Linked DNA regions of Homo sapiens: regions 1, 2 and 3 are each linked to region 4. The links are contacts of gene promoters, found by promoter capture Hi-C in blood cells and fetal thymus (Javierre and others, 2016). All regions are on one chromosome and are shown on one strand. Each heading gives the region's core, a stretch centred on a gene start or on the middle of the fragment in contact. The rest is flanking DNA. Distances are from core to core; before and after follow the strand shown. Region 1 holds the start of AARS1 (alanyl-tRNA synthetase 1). Region 2 holds the start of DDX19A (DEAD-box helicase 19A). Region 3 holds the start of VAC14-AS1 (VAC14 antisense RNA 1). Region 4 holds the start of WWP2 (WW domain containing E3 ubiquitin protein ligase 2).

The links. Contacts are between HindIII fragments. The CHiCAGO score rates a contact against its expected background, and 5 or more counts as called.
Region 1: the fragment with the promoter of AARS1 here is called in contact with the fragment with the promoter of WWP2 in region 4 in 17 of 17 cell types (activated CD4 T cells, total B cells, erythroblasts and 14 more); the score reaches 20.2 in activated CD4 T cells.
Region 2: the fragment with the promoter of DDX19A here is called in contact with the fragment with the promoter of WWP2 in region 4 in 1 of 17 cell types (neutrophils); the score reaches 6.5 in neutrophils.
Region 3: a contact is called between the fragment with the promoter of VAC14-AS1 here and the fragment with the promoter of WWP2 in region 4, in 2 of 17 cell types (naive CD8 T cells and fetal thymus). The highest score is 5.4, in naive CD8 T cells.

The regions. Positions count from the first base shown.
Region 1 is chr16:70,288,106-70,291,595 of GRCh38, reverse strand. AARS1 (alanyl-tRNA synthetase 1) reads left to right here and starts at 2,090. Exons shown (of 21, transcript NM_001605.3): 1 at 2,090-2,175. It also overlaps a transcript of DDX19B not described here. RefSeq lists a silencer at 2,745-2,874. The HindIII fragment of the contact is 11,417 bases long and covers 429-3,490 here.
Region 2 is chr16:70,344,864-70,348,288 of GRCh38, reverse strand. DDX19A (DEAD-box helicase 19A) reads right to left here and starts at 1,386. Exons shown (of 12, transcript NM_018332.5): 1 at 1,241-1,386. The coding sequence starts at 1,297. It overlaps DDX19A-DT (DDX19A divergent transcript), which reads left to right and starts at 1,542. Exons shown (of 5, transcript NR_039997.1): 1 at 1,542-2,090. RefSeq lists enhancers at 1,142-1,631, 1,150-1,767, 1,768-2,386. The HindIII fragment of the contact is 29,277 bases long and covers 1-3,425 here.
Region 3 is chr16:70,753,598-70,756,995 of GRCh38, reverse strand. VAC14-AS1 (VAC14 antisense RNA 1) reads right to left here and starts at 1,901. Exons shown (of 6, transcript NR_034083.3): 1 at 1,747-1,901; 2 at 909-983. All of the region lies in intron 12 of VAC14 (VAC14 component of PIKFYVE complex), which reads left to right. RefSeq lists enhancers at 1,103-1,743, 1,744-2,384. The HindIII fragment of the contact is 11,858 bases long and covers 1-3,398 here.
Region 4 is chr16:69,760,487-69,764,031 of GRCh38, reverse strand. WWP2 (WW domain containing E3 ubiquitin protein ligase 2) reads right to left here and starts at 1,700. Exons shown (of 24, transcript NM_001270454.2): 1 at 1,641-1,700. RefSeq lists silencers at 1,224-1,273, 1,294-1,453, 1,474-1,613 and an enhancer at 1,317-1,895. The HindIII fragment of the contact is 2,162 bases long and covers 137-2,298 here.

The DNA.
Region 1 (3,490 bases), core at 841-3,340, 530 kb before region 4:
CCTCATGATCTGCCTGCCTAGGCCTCCCAAAAGTGCTGGGATTACAGGCATGAGTCACCACGCTAGGCCAAAAAATTATTTTAATCTGTTTATAATTATTTTATTAATGAAGGTACTATCCTAGTAACAACTCTGGCAGCAGAACTAAATTATTGAGATTACAACCTGTATTATTTTATTCTGAAAGTACAATTCATACATACCTTTTGGCTTTCTATTTTAAGTGTGGTGGCTTAGAAGTCTGACTCATTTCCCAGATTGTTTAAGCTAAATATATGTTATTTAGGGCACTGTGGATCAGAATAAACACTTGTGTCTCCTGGTTTTGCCCTCAGCTGTGTTACTTAACCTCTCTCTCTGCCTTATTTTACTCTGTTAAAAGCAGATAGTAGTAGTAACTCATGATAAGGTTGTGAGGATTAAAAGCTTAGATTGGTGCCTGCTGTATACTAAGTGCTCAATAAATGGTAGGTTTGATGATTACTATTTGTGAGCAGCTATGAAGTGGGAAAGTAAATCAAATGATTTATGTTTTTACTGGCTTTTGGGCTTGACCTTCTTTTTGTGTAGGATGCTCTTTTTGCATAAAAAGTAGTATTTTTCTGTATTGTCTGTAACTTGAGTTATGACCAGCAGCACAATTTATTACCCGTGTATTTGGATATATCAGATGATGGAGGTAATAGTGCAGTGGTTAAGAGCATGGGCTTTGGAGTTAAATAGACACAGGTTTGGATCCTGTCTCCACAACTTACTATTGGGTGTGAACTTGTGCAAGGTAATTTCCTCATTTGTAAAAAGGGGACTCCAGCTGACCTCATACACAGTTTAAAAATCAAATGAAATAAGCATGTGAAATGTTTGATGCAATGCCTCACGTATAAATACATACATATTTTTCAGACAGGGCCTCGCTCTGTCGCCCAAGGAATGCAGTGTCACGATCAGGGCTCACTGCAGCCTCAACTTCCTAGGCTCAAGTGATCCTCCCACTTCAACCTCCCAAGTAGCTGGGACTACAAGCATGCGCCACTATGCCTGGCTAATTTTTATTTTTTATTTTTTTTTTTGAGACGGAGTCTTGCTCCGTAGCCAGGCTGGAGTGCAGTGGCGCCATCTCGGCTCACCGCAACTTCCGCCTCCCGAGGTCAAGGGATTCCCTTGCCTCAGCCTCCCGAGTGGCTGGGACTACAGATGCGCGCCCGGCTAATTTTGTGTTTTTAGTAGAGACGGGGTTTCACCATGTTGGCCAGGATGCTCTCGGTCTCCTGACCTCGTCATCCGTTGGCCTCAGCCTCCCAAAGTGCTAGGATTACAGGTGTGGGCCACCGCGCCCGGCCTTTTAAAAAATTTTTCGTAGAGACAGGGTCTAGTTATGTTGACCAGGCTGGTCTCCAACTCCTGGGTTCAGGTGATCTTCCCACCTTGGCCTCCCAAAGTGTTGCAATTATAGGCGTGAGCCACCGCACCTGGCATGTATATATGTATATGTATATATATATATTCACCCTCCTCCCCCAGGCCTATAAATATTAACTTTTTTTTTTCCAAAGGCAAATCGAGGACCAGATGCTGATCCAATCGTACCTGAACTACTGATGTTATTTCTTCCACACCAAATTCAAGGTCTCCCCCGGACAAGTGTAACCATGGGCACAATGTCAGACTCTTTGAGGGCTGTGTATCACTCAGCAACTAAAATAAACAACTATAGCAAGATATGTAACCTCTACCAAACACGTTACCGTCTCCCCTTTTTAACTATGTCAATTGTGGTGTTAGGACTTTGCCTATGGAAACCAAAATGTCGACCTCCGGGAGCCGGGGGCGGGGGGGGGCGGGGGGGGCGGGGGGGGGTCTAACTCGATCATGTGACGCACCCCATCCCACCTTTTCTCGCAGTTGCATCAGCCAAGTTAGAGCCGCCTTCCCAGGAATCCACTAATGAACGGATTCGTCCTCAGTTTGACTGGCATGTTGGTTGACCAATAATATCTCATGAGGTAAGGCGCGGCGGGGCACTTTCCGTCGGCGCGCTCTGATTGGACGGAGCGTGGCGGGTTGTGGTAGGTCGTGGTCTGAGGCCGGTACAGCTGCGCGTCTGCGGGAATAGGTGCAGCGGGCCCTTGGCGGGGGACTCTGAGGGAGGAGCTGGGGACGGCGACCCTAGGAGAGGTAGGCCGCCCTCGGAGAGCTCTGCGGTGCTAGGAGAGCGGCTGGGCCCGCAGACTGGGGGGAAAGCTCCGCAGCCGCAGTGGGCCCCAGGATCAGGCCCCGCGTGGCCTGGAGAAGCCCAGTCTGGGCTGGAGCGGGAGCTGGACAGTGTGGCCTTGCGTTCGCCCCCGGGAGCGCTGCGAGTGTCGCGGCCTCGGGTGGATTTGCTGAGCACCAATACCTCACGGTTGCCAACCTGGGGTTTTAGCTCCCTTGGTTTTAATCCCCTAGGGGCGGGTGGGGGCACGGGAGGAAGGATGGGCCAGCTGGGTGCAATCCTGCTGTAAGCCAGCCATTCCTTGATTTCTTAAAATTAACTAAACAGCTGATGCCGGTCCAGGCGCACCGAGACCGTCATCTTAAGCTGTTCTGTAAAACAGTTTGTATTTCTCGGTGTGCTTTGAAGCATGTGAGTTAATTCCGAACTTGGTGTTAAAGGATTAGTATACCTGATCACGAAATACGTATTTAGCAGCCACTGTACTAGATGCTGAGGATGTGCTGTAATAGCCCAGGGCCAGGCGCGGAGGCTCACGCCTGTAATCCCAGCGCTTTGGGAGGTCGAGGCGGGCGGATCACCTGAGGTCAGGGGTTCGAGACTAGCCTGGCCAACATGGTGAAACCCCGTCTTTACTAAAAATACAAAAATTAGCCGAGCGTGGCGGCGCGCGCCTGTACTCTCAGCCACTCCGGAGGCTGAGGCATGAGAATCGCTTGAACCCGGCAGGCGGAGGTTGCAGTGAGCTGAGATCACACCATTGCACTCCAGCCTGGGTGACAGAGGGAGACTCCGTTTCAAAAAAAAAAAAAAAAAAAGAGCCCAGAACAGTCGTTGCTGCTGGGATGGAACTGACAGCCTGATGGGGGAGGCGCACATTAAACAATCCATGAAGCGCGTATGGAAATTATGAAGGGAAACACTTGAGGCTGTGAGACAGTAAAAGAGGGGGAGCCTTATCAAGAAGGGGAAGGCGGCCGGGCGCGGTGGCTCACGCCTGTAATCCCAGCACTTGGGGAGGCCGAGGTGGGCAGATCACGAGGTCAGGAGATTGAGACCATCCTGGCTAACACGGTGAAACCCCATCTCTACCAAATATACAAAAATAGCCGGGCGTGGTGACTGGCGCCCGTAGTCCCAGTAGTCCCAGCTACTCGGGAGGCTGAGGCAGGAGAATGGCGTGAACCCGGGAGGCGGAGCTTGCAGTGAGCTGAGATCGCGCCACTGCACTCCAGCCTGCGCAACAGAGCGAGACTCCGTCTCAAAAAAAAAAAAAAA
Region 2 (3,425 bases), core at 137-2,636, 580 kb before region 4:
GGGACGTTAGTAGTACCAATAGGATCCAGGTTGAAAACAGAAACCTTTGGCTTTATCTCCCTTCTCTCCTTTATTATGTTAGCAAGTCCTACCCATTCTACCTTCATATCTTATACCCATCCCTTAATTTTCACTTCCACTGCCCAACATAGGCCCTCTATCTCGGGGCTATCAGAATAACTTCTACACTGATATTTCTATTAGCCATCACTTCTAACATATTCTGTTCTCTGTAGTTCAATAAATCCTTGCCAGCCTTGTCTAATTCTGTCAATAGCCCTCTCAAAAATCCCCATACCGGCTGGGCGCGGTGACTCACGGCTGTAATCCCAGCACTTTGGGAGGCCGAGGTGGGCGGATCACTTGAGGTCGGGAGTTCGAGACCAGCCTGACCAACATGGAGAAACCCCGTCTCTACAAAAAATACAAAATTAGCCGGGCGTGGTGGCGCATGCCTGTAATCCCAGCTACTCGGGAGACTGAGGCAGGAGAATCGCTTGAACCCGGGAGGCGGAGGTTGCGGTGAGCCGAGATGGCGCCATTGCACTCCAGCCTGGGCAACAAGAGCAAAACTCTGCCTCAAAAGAGAAACAACTACAACAAAAAAAAAGACAGTCCATTATCACTAAACAAACCTAAAGTTTAGGTCTTAGATATAAGAACAGAAAGCCACAGTGTATGCTGTAATTACATTCCAGTTGAATGAATATTCATTACTGAAAGAACAAGTACATGAAACCGTTACTTTACACATCAATGAAACAATTTGTAGTGCCTCCTTCCAACATCTGCAGTAGATTGAGGTATTAAATCCAAAAGTCAATCTGTTATTCTGCAAAGAGCTACAAACTACCAACCACGTTAAGCATGGATCTAAGAAATGTTAAATACAGAGTAGTACAGAAACATGCGAAGAACAGTCGCGTAATGAAAAAGAGAATCAGAATCTAAACTTGGCTTTCCTTATAATCGTCACCGAGGAGGTCAATAGAGGAATGACAGCATGCATAGTGGGGCGGATTTACCAAAGGATGAAGTCCTTAACCAGCCCAGATGGAGATAAAAAGCTCGACATTGGTCTCTTTAGCTCTAAGAGCAAATCAAGGGCAAGTGACTGCCCTAGCAAACTGCAGGAGCGCGTTGCCCAGGGGCCTCCCCAACCCGGGGAGCTCCCTGTGCTTTTGGGAGGTTTCGCTTGGGCCCCTGCTACGTCCTCCTCGCCAGGAGCTGAGCTACTGACCGACTTGACAGCCGCTTCCTGCTCGTCCACCGCCAGGGCCCACGAGTCGGTGGCCATAGTCCCGGACAAGGGAGACCCACTTGTGAAAATATGCGCTGCACCACGTCGCAACGCGGGCCCTAACCTCGCCACCGGCGCGAGAATGCACCTCACGCGGACCGGAAGCGGCGGTGAGCACAGGTGACGTCAGTTCCCACCCAGCGTGCGACATCATCATTCTGCGCGGCGCCAGGTCTCTCCTCGGGCCTCGCCTTTCCCTTCGTGCGCAAACCTCGCGCTTTTTGCTCACCCTTCCAGGACGCGGCCTCCTCGCTTCTTAAAATGTCTGAGCTCTACGAAGTGGAACTGTTAGCCCTCCGTTTATTGCCTTACTTCACACTGAAATAAGCCAACGTTTATTTTATTTTATTTATTTTATTATTTATTTTATTATTTTTTTTCGAGACGGAGTCTCGCTCTGTCCCAGGCTGGAGTGCCGTGGCGGGATCTCGACTCACTGCAACCTCCGCCTCCGTGTTCAAGCTATTCTACCTCAGCCTCCCGAGTAGCTGGGATTACAGGTGCCCGCCACCACGCCCGGCTAATTTTTGTATTTTTAGTAGAGATGGGGTTTCACCATGTTGGCCAGGCTGATCTCGAACTGCTGACCTTGTGATCCTCCCGCCTCAGCCTCCCAAAGTGTTGGGATTACAGGCGTGAGCCACCGCGCCCGGCCCCCAACGTTTCTTTTTAAGCCTGTCATATCTCACATTAAATGTGTAAGTCTCTGAACTGTAGGGCTTTGAACAAAGGAAAGTTCCATGAGAATACTATATGATGCCAATTTCTACTGTTAGGAACGCGATAACAGGTAAGAAAACAAAAACCAAAACGCAACAGAAGACCCGTAAACCCCATAATTCCACCATCCAATAAACACAACACACAATGCGTTTTTTCGTTTCTTTTTTGAGTCAGGGTCTCATTGTGTCGCCCAGGCTGGAATGCAGTGGTGTGATCTCGGCTCACTGCACCCTTGACCTCCCACCTCAGCCTCCCAGGTAGCTGGGCCCACAGGCCCGCACCACCACTCCTGGCTAGTTTTTAAACTTTTTGCAGAGACGGAAGTCTTCATTATATTGCTCAGGCTGCTTTTGATCTCCTGCTAACTCCAGAGATCCTCCTGCCTTGGCCTCTCAAAGTGTTGGGATTACAGGCATGAGCCACCACACCTGGCCATTATGTTGAAGGACCACCAAATACATAATGTATAATCTATTTATATGAGATTCAAGAATAGGACAAATAAAATCTATGCTGATAAAAACTAACAGAGCTTACCTGTGGAGAAGGATGTTTGGTCCAGACACAAGAGAACTTCCTGGGTGATAGAATTATTCTGTATCTTGATTGGGACCTGGTTACATAGATGTGTAAATTTGTTAAGTCATGCTACTTTGTATTTCTAAACTCATGGAACCATTATTTACAGATATCACCCAGGCTGGAGTGCAGTGGCCGGGTCTTGGCTCACTGCAACCTCTGCTTCCTGGATTCAAGCGGTTCTCCTGCCTCAGCCTCCCAAGTAGCTGGGATTACAGGCACACGCCACCACGCCCAGATAATGTTTGTATTTTTAGTAGAGATGGAGTTTCACCACGTTGGCTAGGCTGGCCTTGAACTCCTGAGCTCAAGGATCTGCCTGCCTGGGCCGCCCAAAGTGCTGGGATTACAGGTGTGAGCCACAGTGCTGACCTGCTTTTTCTTTTTTATAAGCAGTTCCCAAGGAAGAATAACTGTTTTTGTTTGTTTTTTGTGACAGGGTCTTGCTCTGTCACCTAGGCTGGAATGCAGTGGCACGTTCACAGCTCACTGCAGCCTTGATCTCCCAGACTCAAGTGATCCTCGCACCTCAGCTCCCCAGCAGCTGGGAATATAGCACTTCGCCACCACCCCTGGCTAATTTTTGTGTGAGAACTTGTGCATTTAAAATATCATGGTATATAAATTATACCTTTCAATAATGTTGATTAAAAATCAAAAAAAGGGCCGGGGGCGGTGGCTCACGCCTATAACCCTAGCACTTTGGGAGGCCAAGGCTGGTGGATCACCTGAGGTCAGGAGTTCGAGACCAGCCTGGCCAACATGGCGAAACCTCACCTCTACTAAAAATACAAAAATTAGGGCCGGGCGCAGTGGCTCATGC
Region 3 (3,398 bases), core at 652-3,151, 990 kb before region 4:
AATGAGAACCACCTTTCTGGAAAAATTGGAAAGTAGGATTCCGAGGACAGTATTCATGGCAGTGGTAACGTTTCTAGTTTGGGAACCCACTCACTGCATGAAGAACATGGGCCACCCATCACACCCACTGTGGCACGGCCATGACTCAGGAGGAAAGGATGGTAGGGGGCAAGGTCTAGGGAGTGGTGTAAGGGCATCTGAAAAGGAGCTTTTGTTGTAAGTTTCGTAAGGTACACCATGGGTACAGCGATGTACCCGGTCCAAGGTGGCCCGGTGCCTCCCCAACCCAGTGGTACCTGGGTTGAGGACAGGTAGCAGAAGTGCCTGACCCATGGGGTAGAACCCCAAGGGCTGTCCCAGCCTCTGCTGAGTCCTGAGGGGAGAGGAATGGGGCGCCTTGAGGGGCTCTTCACTGGTGGCAGATGCCCTATCCAGCCCTCCTTGGTCTTGGGCCTCTCAGCCCCTCACCAGCAGGGTAGGCGCTGGGAAGCACCCCCTGCCATGCCCTAGACTGTATTTTAAGGTGCGATTTGCTTTGGTAGGGGAGGAAGGGGAGAGTTCATTTGTTTTCATGGTGCAGGTCCCAGGAGAAATGGATCGGAAAAACTCAGGAGGTTCAGAGATCTGAAAGGAGAGCACTCACTGGGGCCAGGCCGAGTTGCCAGAAAGAGAAGCAGATCGGGGCTTGCCTAGGAGCCCAGAGGAACGGCCCAACTTGGGCTGGCAGTGCCACTGCTGCTGCCACGCCTGCCTGGAGCCTCAGCCCAGCCCAGAGCAGAGCAGAGCAGAGCTGGGGTGAGGCTGCCTGGCTTCCTGCCTCAGGGCAGAAGCAGCCCTGTGTATCACCCCAGCGTGCCCCTTTCCTTCTCCAGCCTCATGCCATCCGGTCCACAGATGTACTCCCTTACCTTATCCTTCCCAAGCAGTCCTTGTCACCGTGGTCAGGTGGGTTGGCCAGCTGGGTCCCAGGGCTCATCTGCCTGCTTTAAAGGGATTTAATTCTTGATGACACGGACTTTGGCCTGGGGTCCCACCTGGGGGAAGCCCCAAACCCCCGAGCTGTGCTGTGAGGAATGGTGGGAGGAAGCAGAGTGCCCCTAGGTTCCCAGGTGGCTGGGGCTGCTCTCTCCCGTCCCCCAAAGAGAGGAGCTGTTACTGCCATCCCTCAGTGTCTACCCCAAAATGGGGGCTTCCACTAAAGTAGAGGCCCCTTCATTTGAGGGCAGCTTAGAGAGCCAATGACGGCCCCTCCACCACCCCCGCTGCAGCTTTCTTTAGGAACCGTGGTGGGTCATGTGTCAACCCCTCGTATCAGTGGGAGGAGACTAGGAGGAGGAGAGGGCCCCAGCTGAAGTCTGCGGGGCTTGTGCCCCATTCTGAGTGCATTGCATCTGTGTCTTAATGAATCCACATGGTGGTCCAGGAGTGATCTTAGTTACCCCGAGGTGTGAGGAGGATCACTTGCCTAAGGTCACACTGTCAGCCAGAATTGACAGTCAAATCTGTCTGATTCCAGAGCATCTAAAACCTCACACAAGGTGTCACCTCACTGCAGAGCAGGGACCCGGCCCAGGGTGGAGGCACTGCCTTATCCAGGCCCAGGCCCTCCGCTGACCCCATAGGGTTTTGTCCTTGGCTGACCTTCAGTTCTAAATGCACCTTCTCCCTCTGTGCATTTAACTTTGACCTCATTCTCCTGCACCTTCCTTCCCAGGCCCCATGGGCTGTCCCTGGCTGCTCACTGACCTGGTGGCCCCTAGCCCCCCTCCAGGGCTCAGTCCAGAAGCCCTCTCCATCTTCCACCTGGCTGACCTTCTCCCAGAAGCGCTGAGGCCGGTGGCCAGGCCTGCTGCAGGGTGGTGTAGAAGCCGCCTGGGTGCAGATCAGGAGGGCCAGCCTCTGCCCCCACGCTGCCCGGCTCTCCACGGGACCAGGCAGGTCACATGACACCGCCTCACCTCGGTTTTCTTCCCAGGGTACTGGGGTTGGACTGGATGGTCTGAGATCCCTTCCAGCCCTGAATCTGTGTGGTCCTGACTCCACTCCCTGGAATACTAATGCTGCCTGCTCAGAAGCGGACAGTCTTCCATAAGAACAGTACTTGTTTTTCCTCCTCAGATTCTTGCCTCAGTGTTCACTTCCCTCCAATTTTCATTCCATCCACTCTCCAAAACAAACAAAAACACCCCTCCACCCCCACCTCAATTCCACAGATATCTTTAAAATCAGATCACGCAGTAAGATACGGCCTCAGCCCAGAGAATGGAGGGGTGCCGTGTCGGTGCCCAAAGAACTTGACTCCTCTTGCAAGAGCCCAGCCTGCAGGGGAGAGGAGCTGGGTGGGCACTGATGGCCCGGGGACCCTCTTCCTGAGGCACCCTCCCCTGGCCCTGCCGTGGGCAGGGGACACTGCCCTCTGTCCCCTCTCCCCGCGGCTGTCCCTGCAGCTTCTTTTGGGGGCTTCTGAGAACAAGTGAGAGGGAGTCATGTGCCAGGGAGAAGGGCCACCGCCAGCCAGCAAAGCAGCTAGACTCCAGCCACGGCCCTGAGCCTTCCTCCTCGGGGACAGCTAGGTCCCAGGCCCAGCAGAGGTACCAGCAGCCACTGCTGGGGGTTCAGAGAGGACTGTGGTCTTCTAAAATGAGGCTTGGCGGCAAATCGTTGCTAGGGAAGAGAGGGGAATGGCAAGGTAACAGTCCCAGAACTGTACCCACTGAGAGGGCCTCTACCCACCCCTCATTCTTCCAGATGTTCCCACCTTGTGGTGTCAGTGCCCACAGCAGCCACCCCAGAGCACAGGGGGACCCAGAGTAACTGCGGCCAGCCTTGCCACCTCCTTGCAGGGAAGACAGGACTGTGTGCCAGGAGGGTTTGAGTATTTACCTCTCCATGTTCCTTGCCCTGGGCAGATGGACCAGTGAGGACCCAGAGCTGGGCACAGTAACTGGTATGAATGGATTGGGGGCCAGGAGGGTGCTGCCTAGCTCCTGGTGAAGGCAGAGGTTGGGCTGAGAAGCATGGTGGAAAGGGAGGCGGCTCTCCCAGCGGCAGGGCCTCTGGGGTAGGAGGAACCCCACAAAGAGGAGCCAGCCCAGCCAGCCTTTCCCTGAGGCAGGAATGGGCGCTCTCACTCACACCTCCTAGAGCCAAGCTGCAGGGCGAGTTGCCTGCAGGACTGAGCACACTATCCAGCCCCGGCTCAAGCCACACAGCAGAGCCATCTAAACCAGGACTGTCACCAGAATTCCCTGGAGCTTTTAAAATCCAGCTGCTTGGGCCTCACTCCCGGCCTTCCTCAGTCGTCCCTCAAGCAGAGCCCGGGTGCCCAGGGGCTGGTATTTTTCACATGCTTCCCAGTGGGTTTGGTGCACATCTCTGGGAGCACAGATACAGACCAG
Region 4 (3,545 bases), core at 451-2,950:
AGGTTAAGTGAGATGTTGGTATACGCTCTTTGTAAATGGGAAAGTAATCATGAAGTGAAAGAGACTGAGAAGCCAATCCAAGCCTTTCTCTCGAGCCTGTTTTCATATGGACCAATGACACAGATAATCACAAGCTTCTCTGACAAGAAAAAGAGTAGAAGACTTGGGTTCAAATCCTTTGTCACCACTTACGCCGGTGTGACTTTTAGAAATGCATTTATTCACCAAATATTTATCAAGTGCTCACAACATGCCAGGCACTAGGCTAGCAGCCAAATAAAATATGAAACCTGCCCTTGAAGGATTTGCAATCTAGCAGGAAGAGGCCAGCAAACAAGAAAGAGCAATAAATTGTTTTAAAAAATCAAGTCGTCTCTCGTAAGTCTGTTTGTTCCCTGTGAAATGAGAATACATCTTCCCAACCTCACTCATAGGCGCTGCTGCAAAAACTAATTTTTAAATGTTTGTCAAATAACTCCAAAAACTTGAACTCATAATACATTAGGAAAGTACTTTTTCCTACTTGTAACCCAAAACGATGCTGGCTGCTGTGAATGTCCAGTTTGAACATTCGTTCCAGTTACACTGCACTCATGAAACTCCTTTTGCTTCTGCAAATTTTAGTAAACATGAGAAACAGGAAGATGAACAGGCTTTAACACAAGTATTCAATCTCAAAATCATGATCCAGGTCACAGTTCTAAGGAACATAACACAGACCTCTCAGGCACCCTACCTAGTTACAGTTCGTCAAGATAAGCAGTCACAAGATAAGCTAAGGGAAACTGAATAATTTAAACGGAAGAAAGAGAAAAGTCATAAAGCAGTCTAGGTAGACACTTCTCTGTCCAAGATTTCAGCAGTCACTATGTTGCTGAGGTAACGCTGGGCTAGGTCAACAGTGTAAGCTAAAAGCCATTTTACAGGCAAAGTGCCCACACTTATTTTTTTAATTTATTTTCTTTTTTTGTTTTTTAAAGCCTCGATGATGGCCCGTTCAGGGAAAATCTCAAAGAAAAATGAGCTGAAGGGCTAGGCTCCCAAGAAGTGGAAACCCTACCCACGCAGGACTAAGTGGGCGCGAGGGAAGCAAGACGATCAAGATTCTGTGATCCCTCCTGAAGTTTAAAAACTGAATGGGACCGTCATCAAAGTCTCGGGTAACAATCATTTCCAAACAGGAAGGAAGGGAGAGACTCTCAGAGGGGGTCCAGGCAGCATCTTTTTCCCTCTGGCTCCACGCCATAAACCCATTTTCAGGCACCCCCTTCCAGCTCAGTTCCAAGTCGCCCCTTCCCCTGGTCCCGATCCCTCCACAAAGATCGCTCCTCTCCATGCCTGGGAACCTAAGCTCCTCTCCCCTTCCGGGAGGACTCGCTCCAGCTGCACCCTTGGCGGCCGGGGCACCCATTTCGGAGCAACCCCCGCGCGGGCCGCGGCGCGCCCACCCCACTCGGGCGGGAGCCGGGACACCCCTCCTCGGAGGCCGGAACCGCCGCGCCAGGCCCCTCCCACAGGAAGCCGCCGCCCCCCGACGCCCGGGCCGCGCCGCCCCCGGCCCACCCCGCGCCGCCCGCCGCCCCCGGCCCGCCCCGTGCAGGCAGCCAGCCCACCGCGCCCCCCGCGCCAGCGCTCGCTACCTGCCGTGGCCACAGAAGCGGCGCCGAACTCCTCTCCTACTTCCGCCTTCCACCGCCCGCACTCGGGCCGGGTCACGTGACCGCGCGCGGTCACCTGACCCGGAAGAGGCTGGCCAGGCTCGCAGGTGCGGGCCACCTAGGCCTGGCCTGGGCACCTCTGGCCTCGAGGAGGCCTTTTTATCGTCTCTGTAGTTGAAAGTGGAAGGGTTTCTGCTCACCGGATGGTCCCAGGCAATCAAATAAATTGAGGGCTCACTGAATGCCACCTACTCTGCCCATCAACCTTATAGAGGCAGGGACAGGTACTAGCCCCATTTTACAGGTGAAACGAGACCTTCAGACTGTTAAGTCAGCAAATACTTAATTGAGCTCCTTTAGTAGGGTTGCCAGATAAAGTACAGGACACCCACTTAAATTTGAATTTCAGATAAACAACAGTGTAATATGTATGTCCCAAATACAGAATGGGACATATTTATACTAAAAAAAGTATTTTTTGATTATCTGAAGATCAAATTGAATTGAGTATCTGTATTTCTATTTCCTGGCAACCTTATGCCTATTATGTGCCAGGCACTGTTCTAAGATCCAGGACCACAAACATCTCAGCCTTTGTGGGGCATCTGTCCTTGTGACATGAAGCAAAAGTACAAAAGCTTAAAAACTCCTGCTTGGCTCCATAAAAAGCCCCTCCACACTAATCCAATCGCATTCCCTTAATCTACAACTACAGGGCACAGAGAACTTAATGAATTATAATCCAGGTAGGTAGGTAGGTAGGTAGGTGGATAGATAGATGATATTTTTTTTTTTTTTTTTGAGATGGAGCCTCGCTCTGTCGCCCAGGCTGGAGTGCAGTGGTGCAGTCTCAGCTGACTGCAACCTCCGTCTCGCCGGTTCATGCAATTCTCCTGCCTCAGCCTCCCGAGTAGCTGGGATTACAGGCGTGCACCACCACGCCTGGCTAATTTTTGCATTTTTAGTAGAGACAGGGTTCCTCCATGTTGACCAGTCTGGTCTCGAACACCTGACTTCAAATGATCCGCCCACCTTGGCCTCCCAAAGTGCTGGGATTACAGGCATGAACCACCGCACCTGGCAGAGAAATATTTTTTTTAAGAGATGGGTCTGGATAGGTTGCTTTGGCTGGGCTCGAACTCCCAGCTTCAAGCAGTCCTCTTGCTTCAGCCTCCCAAGTAGCTGAGACTACAGGCGAATGCCACTGTGCCTGCCCAATAACTTTATTTATTTATTTATTTATTTATTTATTTGCTTGCTTGAGACAGAGTTTCACTCTTGTAGCCCAGGCAGGAGTGCAGTGGCTCAATCTTGGCTCACTGCAACCTCTGCCTCCCAGGTTCAAGCAATTCTCCTTCCTCAGCCTCCTGAGTAGCTGGGACTACAGGCACCCACCACCATGCCTGGCTAATTTTTGTATTTTTAATAGAGATGGGGTTTCACCATGTTGGCCAGGCTGGTCTCAAACTCCTAACCTCAGATGATCCACCTGCCTTGGCCTCCCAAAGTGCTCAGATTATAGGCGTGAGCCAATGCGCCCGGCCTCCAAGAACATTTTAAATAGACATTCTTGACTGATGTTCTGGACAAGTTGAATGAAGGCTCAGTTTAATCACCATTGATTAAAATTAATACTAATGACGTAATTAGCCTCAAAGACTTGTACTAATCTGTTATTTTTGGGTCTTCGAATTGGGATGGATTCTATCATGCATACAAATTAAATTGGCTGGTGGGGCGTGGAGGCTCACGCCTGTAATCCCAGCACTTTGGGAGGCAGAGGCAGGTGGATTACCTGAGGTCGGGAGTTCGAAACCCACTTGGCCAACCTGGTGAAACCCCATCTCTACTAAAACTACAAAAAAAAAAAAAAAAAAGATTCGCCGG